2 separate regions of the Homo sapiens genome follow, and region 2 is linked to region 1. Evidence: promoter capture Hi-C in human tissues and cell types (Jung and others, 2019). All regions are on one chromosome and are shown on one strand. Each heading gives the region's core, a stretch centred on a gene start or on the middle of the fragment in contact. The rest is flanking DNA. Distances are from core to core; before and after follow the strand shown. Region 1 holds the start of NOLC1 (nucleolar and coiled-body phosphoprotein 1). Region 2 overlaps GBF1 (golgi brefeldin A resistant guanine nucleotide exchange factor 1).

Region 1 (4,195 bases), core at 174-2,673:
CCCGCCACCATGCCTGGCTAATTTTTTTTGTATTTTTAGTAGAGACAGGGTTTCACCATGTTGGCCAGGGCTGTTCTTGAACTCCTGACCTCAGGTGATCCACCCACCTTAGCCTCCCAAAGTGCTGAGATTACAGGCATGAACCACCGTGCCCAGCTTTGTTTTTGATTTTTGAGATAGGATCTCACTCTGTGGCCCAGGCTGGATTGCAGTGGCAGGATCATAGCTCATTGCAGCTTTGACCTCCCTGGCTCAGTTGATCCTCCTGCCCCAGCCTCCCAAGTAGCTGGGACCACAGGTGCATGCCACTACACCTGGCTAATTTTAAAAATTTTTTGTAGAGATAGGGGGGTTTCACTGTGTTGTCCAGGCTGGCCTCTTAACTCCTGGGCTCAAGGGATCCTCCCACCTAGGCCTTCCAAAGTGTTGAGATAACAGTTGTGAGCCACTATGCCTGGCCAATTTTATATAGGAGAGGGGGGTGTGTTCCCATGAGGATCCTTATCTTTCCTGAGCGGCATTAGTGGGAGGTAGCCAAGGGGTAGTGGGTAGGATTGAAGGGATTGCTAACTGCTAATATCTGGAATGTGGCAGAACTTGGAATTAACTTGGTAGGTCTGAGCATTGATACTGGAGTTACTCATGACAAAGGCATTGATACTGGAGTTACTCATGACAAAGGCAGAGTGTGAACTCTGATCCCGGAGGAAGAAGGGTTATTTTCAACAATCTCTTCAGCTTGAATAGATTGTTGCTGTGTGTGATTCAGGTTTGGTGCATGACACCTTTCCTCTTCATGGAGCTGACCTAAGGCGGAATATAAGGGAGATGGGAGGGGCAGCTTGGGAAATCAACACCTCCCACCCTCACGACGGATAACCCGAAGGATCTTCTGCAGCAGAGGCAGGAGTCTGGAGGCTGGGATGGTATCAGAAAGGGCCTCCCTGGGTATTGGAGGCAGTGAAGATGAAGGGCGAGAATCCATTGGCCGTGCCAGTACGCCATGGGGGCGGTTGGGAGATCTTGTAGAACAACTGTTCGAGCCCGCTTGTCCACTCATTACTCTGGAATCCGAGTCCCAGCAGGGGCGCGGGAAACCGCTGCTCTGAGAAAAGGTACCTCCCCCAGAAAGACTGCGCGGGAAGTCCCGAGTTTTCCCGCCACGCCGAGGGCGTGATCCCTGACGTCAGAGCTCCGCCTCCACAAGCTGGCGGCCGGTGGGCTCCGCCCTTAACCAAGATGGCGATACGCGTGGGACCGGAAAGAGTTTATAGATTTCCCGTCTACCCTACCTCTGAGGTGAAGGTGGGACTGCCCTGTGGAGCCCACCCTTTCCGTTATGCGCCCGCGCGGCGCAATGACGTAACACAGGCCCGCCCACTGCCCCTGTTGGGTTCCTGAGTCGTGCTGCGTCGACAACGGTAGTGACGCGTATTGCCTGGAGGATGGCGGACGCCGGCATTCGCCGCGTGGTTCCCAGCGACCTGTATCCCCTCGTGCTCGGCTTCCTGCGCGATAACCAACTCTCAGAGGTGGCCAATAAGTTCGCCAAAGCGACAGGAGCTGTGAGTTCCGGGCTTGGGGCGGGGACCGGGCTGAGATGACCACAAGGCTTCAGGCCCTGACGTGCTTAGGTTTCCAGGTGGGGAAGTCTGGGGGTCCGCCAGTCCAGTGTCTGCAAGGCCTTTACGCCGACCCCTCGGCAGTGACCAGAGAAAGCCTGCGGCCTCGGTCGCTTACCTTCCTCCATGTCTGAGTAGATATCGCTGAGTCTTGTTGCTTTTTTCTTGTGACCTGTGCAGCGGCGGCAGCGTGGGAGCCTCGTGGCCCCAAGCCACATGGCTGGCAGAGTGCAGCGGGGAGGTAGAGTCTTGTTCCACTGAGGACGTTGGTTCTTCGGCATCTTCTGGGGGGCTTTTCGTTGGGTGAGGCAAACCGTGATTTGACCTTAGCCTCAGTCACATTTACTGGGATTCAAAAGCAAGTGAAATTTCTTTAGAATGAAGTCTGGGATTTTCGTTTGTAAAGAAGAAAATGAATGAAAGTAGAAGCAGAGTTTTGTTTTGAGTTACACTGAGAATTGAGAGTCATCAACAGCCCTACCAAGTAGGCATAGTAGTGGGCTTGGAGCTTTGGCTAATTGAATCAAACAAACCTAGGTTTGGGACCAGGCTCTGCCACTTTTTAGATACGTGACCCGGGCAGTTTATTTAACCTTTCTGAGTCTTTCTACAGGGATGTCATCATCCACTTTATAGGATTTTTGTGAGTTTCAGTAAGATGATGTGTAAGAGTAGCAATCTCAGTGCTGGTACAGAGGAATCTTGTAAAAGTGAAAGCTGTACCATAGTTATGGCAATTTAGGATGCTCCAAACACATGTAAGAGTAAGAGAACCAGGAATGTGAAAGGTTTGTAATCTACATCAACGGACATTCCTGCATGGGAAGACACTTTGAGAGAGGAGAGAGGGGGGGTCTTCAGCAGGGATGATAGCATGACTAGGAAGGATGGCTTGCACTTTTAGCAGAATCAGGCTGCGAAAGCAAAGAATCAGATCAGCCTCAAAACTTCCTTAAGCTGGGACAGGCTGCCATGTGATCTAACTGCTTTCTTAATGAAACTGTTTAGAGTTGACTGTTAAGGAGACTGCGGAGAGTGCTTTCACAGTGGACTGGATGGAATTGGACATTTCAGAATTAGGATTCTTTTTTTTTTTTTTTTTTTTTTGAGACGGAGTCTCTGTTGCCCAGGCTGGAGTGCAATGGTGCGATCTCGGCTCATTGTAACCTCCGCCTCCCAAGTTCAAGTGATTATCCTGCCTCAGCCTCCCCAGTAGCTGGGATTACAGGCGCGTACCACCACGCCCGGCTAATTTTTGTATTTTTAGTAGAGATGAGGTTTCACCATGTTGGCCAGGCTGGTCTTGAACTCCTGACCTCAAGAAATCCACTTGCCTCAGCCTCTCAAAGTGCTGGGATTACAGGCGCGAGCCACCGTGCCCGGCCTCAGGATTAGGATTCTGAAATGGTTTTATGTGAGAAAAGCTAATCTTTGTGAAGAGCTAACTAAGGGTCAGATGCTACGCCCTTCACATGCATTTAATTTTTTTTTTTTTTTTTTTTGAGGCGGAGTCTGGCTCTGTCGCCCAGGCTGGAGTGCAGTGGCACGATCTCAGCTCACTGCAACCTCTGCCTCTCAGGCTAAAGTGATTCTCCTGCCTCAGCTTCCCAAGTAGCTGGGACTACAGGTGTGCCCCACCATGCCTGGCTAATTTTTTTTTTTTTTTTTTGTATTTTTAGTAGAGACGGGGTTTCACCATGTTGGCCAGGCTGCTCTTGAACTCCTGACCTCAAGAATCTACTGCCTCGGCTTCCCAAAGTGCTGGGATTACAGGTGTGAGCCACCGCACCCGGCCAACATGCATTATGTCTTATCCTCTCAATAACTTAATGAGATGTGTAGTATTATCTCCATTTTATAGAAAAGAAAATAATCTCAGGGAGATAAGGTAATTTGTCCAAAGGTGAGTTCCCATCTGTACTGACTCTGATCATTTACTCTTTTTTGGACCACAGAGTCTCACTGTTGCCCAGGCGGGAGTGCAGTGGTGCAATCTCAGCTCACTGCAACCTTTGCCTCCCAGGTTGAAGCGATTCTTGTGCCTCAGCCTCATGCCTCAGCCTCCCAAATAGCTGGGATTACAGGCGCCCGCCTCCACGCCCAGCTTATGTTTGTATCTTTAGTAGAGATGGGGTTTCACCATACCAGCCAGGCTGGTCTCAAATTCCTGATCAGGTGATCCACCCACCTCAGCCTCCCAAAGTGTTGGGATTACAGGCCCGTGAGCCACTGCACCTGGCCTGATCCTGTACTCTTCTGTGTATTGTTTTGTGTTTGTTTGTTTCTTTTAGAGGGTCTCACTCTGTCGCCCAGGCTGGAGTAAAGTGATGCAATCATACTTCGCTGTAGCATCGAACTCCTGGGCTCAGGCAATCCTCCTGCCTCAGTCACTGGGGTAGCTAGGACTACAGACATGTACCACCACACCTGGCTAATTTTTTTTTTTTTTTTTTTGTGACAGTTTCGCTCTTGTTGCCCAGGCTGGAGTGCAATGGTGCAATCTCGGCTCACCACAACCTCCACCTCCTGGGTTCAAGCGATTCTCCTGCCTTAGCCTCCTGAGTAGCTGGGAT
Region 2 (3,806 bases), core at 216-2,715, 110 kb after region 1:
TTCAGGCTGTCTTGTCCCATCTTCCCTCTCTTGCTCTCTTTCCCCTCCCCCCACGGAGTGTGTTTGATCAGGTGTGGCAGGAATATCCACTGTCAAGCTGCGCCCTTTATATTAGTCAATATTATCCTTCTCCCCCCTCCCTGTCTGTCTGCCCCTTTGGGCTTTCCCAGTTGATTTATAATTTTGGAATTCTCATTGGAGTCTGTAATACAGTTTGTTCATTATTTAACCAAAACCTGTTTAATGAGCAGAGAGAGGCAATGTAAATGTTAGGCATGTTGCAGTGATGTACCTTTGTGCTTCTCAGAGCGGGTGGGTAGTTAACTCTGTGCTGCCTGCAGGGCTGGGGTGTCCTGGCCTTAGGGGCAGAAGGGCCACTGCCTCTCTCTTACATCTGCCCAAGCCCTGCCATGGGTTTAGATTCCAAAGACACATTTCCTTTTATTCTTCTAAGAATCTTTTGGGGCTCTTGCATATGGGAGTTATCTTCAGTCTCGCAGCTAGACCTTGTGGTAGGATCTGTGGCATGGGATGGGGCATGGAAGGGAAAGTGAAATATCAGGATACTTGATATTGCTCTTGGTTTTAGATCTGACAAGAGTAGACAGTTTATGGGAATGCTTCTAGCCAATATGGTCTGTGGTCTTTGATCTCTTTGTTCCCAGACTAGATAAATTCTTGCAAGCCTTAGTTCCCTTCATCCAGTATAGCTTTATGGAAAGGGCTATAGTCAGTTGTGAGTTGTGGTGTTTGGTTGTAGTCATTTGCCTCCAGATATAGTCTGTCTTTGTCCTTGGTCTTTAAACTTAGATCATTACAAAGAGATTCTTTTCCAGAAAATTTTTGGTTTAAAACAGGAGAGGAACAGTCTAAAAGTATCACAACCAGGCTAGGTGCAGTGACCCACATCTGTAATCTAGCACTTTGGGTGGCCAAGACAGCAGGATTACTTGAGGCTGGGAGTTCGAGACCAGCATGGGCAACATACCAAGATTCCCCCCATCTCTACAAAAATAAAAATAAAAAAAATTAGTTGGGTATGGTGGCGTACAACTGTAGTTCCAGCTACTTAGGCTGAGGCGAGAGGATCACTTGAGCCCAGGAGTTCGAGGTTACAGTGACCCATGATTGCGCCACTGTACTCTAGCCTGAGTGACAAGAGTGAGACCCTTTCAATGAATGAATGAATGAATGAATGAATGAAAGAAAGTATCACAACCAAAATCTTCTCTTATGGGATCATCTTTTAATGACTTACTTTAAAGCCTTCAGGGCCAGGGCTTGAGGAAGACTTCTTAGGGTGTGCGTGTGTCTATGTGCGTGTGAGGGTGTGGTGGTGAGGAGTTTGCCTTTGGAGATTTAGTCCCAGGTCTTTTTAGCTCTGAGGACCTAATGTCCAGTTTTGGTTATCAGGACTGGGGTTCTCAGTGTAAGACTAAGGTGGAGGGCCGGGTGCGGTGGCTCACGCCTGTAATCCCAGCACTTTGGGAGGCCGAGGCGGGCAGATCACGAGGTCAGGAGATTGAGACCATCCTGGCGAACACGGTGAAACCCCGTCTCTACTAAAAAAATACAAAAAATTAGTCGGGCATGGTGGCAGGCGCCTGTAGTCCCAGCTACTCGGGAGGCTGAGGCAGGAGAATGGCCTGAACCTGGGAGGCGCAGCTTGCAGTGAGCCGAGATCGTGCCACTGCACTCCAGCCTGGGTGACAGAGCGATACTCTGTCTCAAAAAAAAAAACTAAGGTGGTCTTGAGGCCCAGTATAGGTACCCATATTAACTATAACATTGTTCTAGCTTCTTAGACCTTTTCTTTTGGGGATTCTCCAAGATTTGGATTCCTTCAGGGCCTAGCTTATTGAGTTGCTTCTAACTGATATTTATTGACTATCTGGTATGTGCCAGGCATTTTTCTTAGGTACTTAGGAAGTGGGTCTGTAATGGTAAACAATCAGTCAGACTTCCTGCCCTCATAGCCACTGGTTTGACAGGACTAATGACTCTAGCTGATCATTCCAAAGCTAACATTTTGTAGCCTCTACTTTATGCTATATGGTCCCTATCAGGCATGGAATGGATGACCATGAGTGAGAGCAATCTGCTGCCAGCTTTTCTTATTCCTGCTCTTTCCTTAAGGAACAAGCCAAAGAAATAAGTAAAAACAATAGCTCATATTTGCTTATTTGGCTTTCACATGTAAAGCTGTTATGGCCAGAGTTTAGCTATTCCCAAAGACATTGGTGGGTTGCATAGCGTAATTCTGGGGGATAGGATATTTCTTTACAGAGCTTACTGGGACAGCAGGTTATGGCGTGCTTGAGTTTAAGAGGGAGAAGCACGTGCCAGGAGAAAGTGGATGTGTCAGGAGTTTATTTAAGTATAGTTTATCCTGGACAAACACACCTGTAGGGTACTGTCTGTCTCAAGCTTTGTGAATTCAGAGTCTGAGCTAGGAGGTTTGAGTCCATCTAACCTCCAGAGGTTTGCAGAGAACATTTAAACAGAGTCTGGAAGCCAACTTGGGAGGAACTATGACTTAACACCTGTCTGGCCTGGGCCTCTTAGCAGTAGCCGCTTAGGTAGAAAAGAAACTGTTTGAGAATGCCTGATACCTCAAGTTTAATCTGTTTCATTTGGAAAATGGGGAGGTGTAGAGAAAAGAGATTTTAGTAGTCATTGTCAGGAAAAAGATTGAATAAGAGTATATTATATGTGCCAGGCATGGTGGCTCACACCTGTAATCCCAGCACTTTGGGAGGCTAAGGCGGGTGGATGACTTGAGGTCAGCAGTTCGAGACCAGCCTGGCCAACATGGTGAAACCCTGTCTCTACTAAAAATACAAAAATTAGCCAGGTGCGGTGGCGCATGCCTGTAGTCCCAGCTACTCAGGAGGCTGAAGCAGGTGAATTGCTTGAACCCAGGAGGTGAGATTGCAGTGAGCTGAGATCGTGCCACTGCACTCCAGCCTGGGTGGCAGATCAAGACTCCATCTCAACAACAACAACAACAACAACAACAAAAGCGAGTATGTTATATGAAAAAAATTTGCTGGAGTCCTATTGATTAAGTGCCTACTTTTATTTTTTCCTACAGGGGTCTATAGTTTAGGGAGTAAAGTAATATATCATTATTAATCAGCATGAGAAGAAGGTTGAATGGGTCATCAGCTTTTGTTCCACTTGGAATTGAGCTTGTGAATTGTTCAAGGCCTAAGTAGGAACTAAAAGAACCAAATGTGATAAAATTTGGCAGACAAATTTTGTGAAGGGCTGAGTGTTAGGAAAGGCAATGGGCACACTTAAAAGTATCCATTTCCTGTGCCCTGTTTTACTTTCTTGGTTTATAATATAAAACTATAGTTGAGTAATACATTAGAATGTGACTTGAATTTGAGTCAGACTGACTTTGGCACCTTAGAATCTCTGTAACTTGAGTGGCCACAGACTTGTAGACATTTCAGCACAGTTAGAGTGAATAAAGGTACTGTGATTCTTTTTTTCCCCAGGGACTATTCATATTAAAAGGGTAGCTCCAAGAGGCCTATATTTTGATGACTTGATTTTGCCATTTCTTTTTACTGGGGCCTTCCCCAGATGATTTATGAATGCTCTTCATTTGACACTTTTAAACCAAGAAGTTCTTCCAAACATTTGTTTGTACTCAAGGTTAGGAAATGAAGACTCTTGAGAAGAAACAGCTCTGCATAATCTGTCCTCTCATGGGTTCAGCTCTCTCTTTTTCTCTTCCTCATACCCAGGCACACTTAGCCATCAGAACTAGTTTCCTGGCTGTTGAGGGGGCACAT

What was found. The method cuts DNA at HindIII sites, captures the fragments that hold promoters and counts their contacts. A contact is called where the count stands out against the background at its distance.
Region 2: a fragment that was not itself captured here is called in contact with the fragment with the promoter of NOLC1 in region 1 in 4 of the 25 tissues and cell types used here (H1 embryonic stem cells, dorsolateral prefrontal cortex, liver and 1 more).

What each region holds. Positions count from the first base shown.
Region 1 is chr10:102,150,966-102,155,160 of GRCh38, forward strand. NOLC1 (nucleolar and coiled-body phosphoprotein 1) reads left to right here and starts at 1,424. Exons shown (of 13, transcript NM_004741.5): 1 at 1,424-1,565. The coding sequence starts at 1,446. RefSeq lists enhancers at 910-2,109, 1,015-1,314, 1,485-1,534. The HindIII fragment of the contact is 9,767 bases long and covers 1-4,195 here.
Region 2 is chr10:102,264,510-102,268,315 of GRCh38, forward strand. All of the region lies in intron 3 of GBF1 (golgi brefeldin A resistant guanine nucleotide exchange factor 1), which reads left to right. Among named protein-coding and RNA genes, the nearest start is that of GBF1, 21 kb to the left of the region's middle. The HindIII fragment of the contact is 6,652 bases long and covers 1-3,806 here.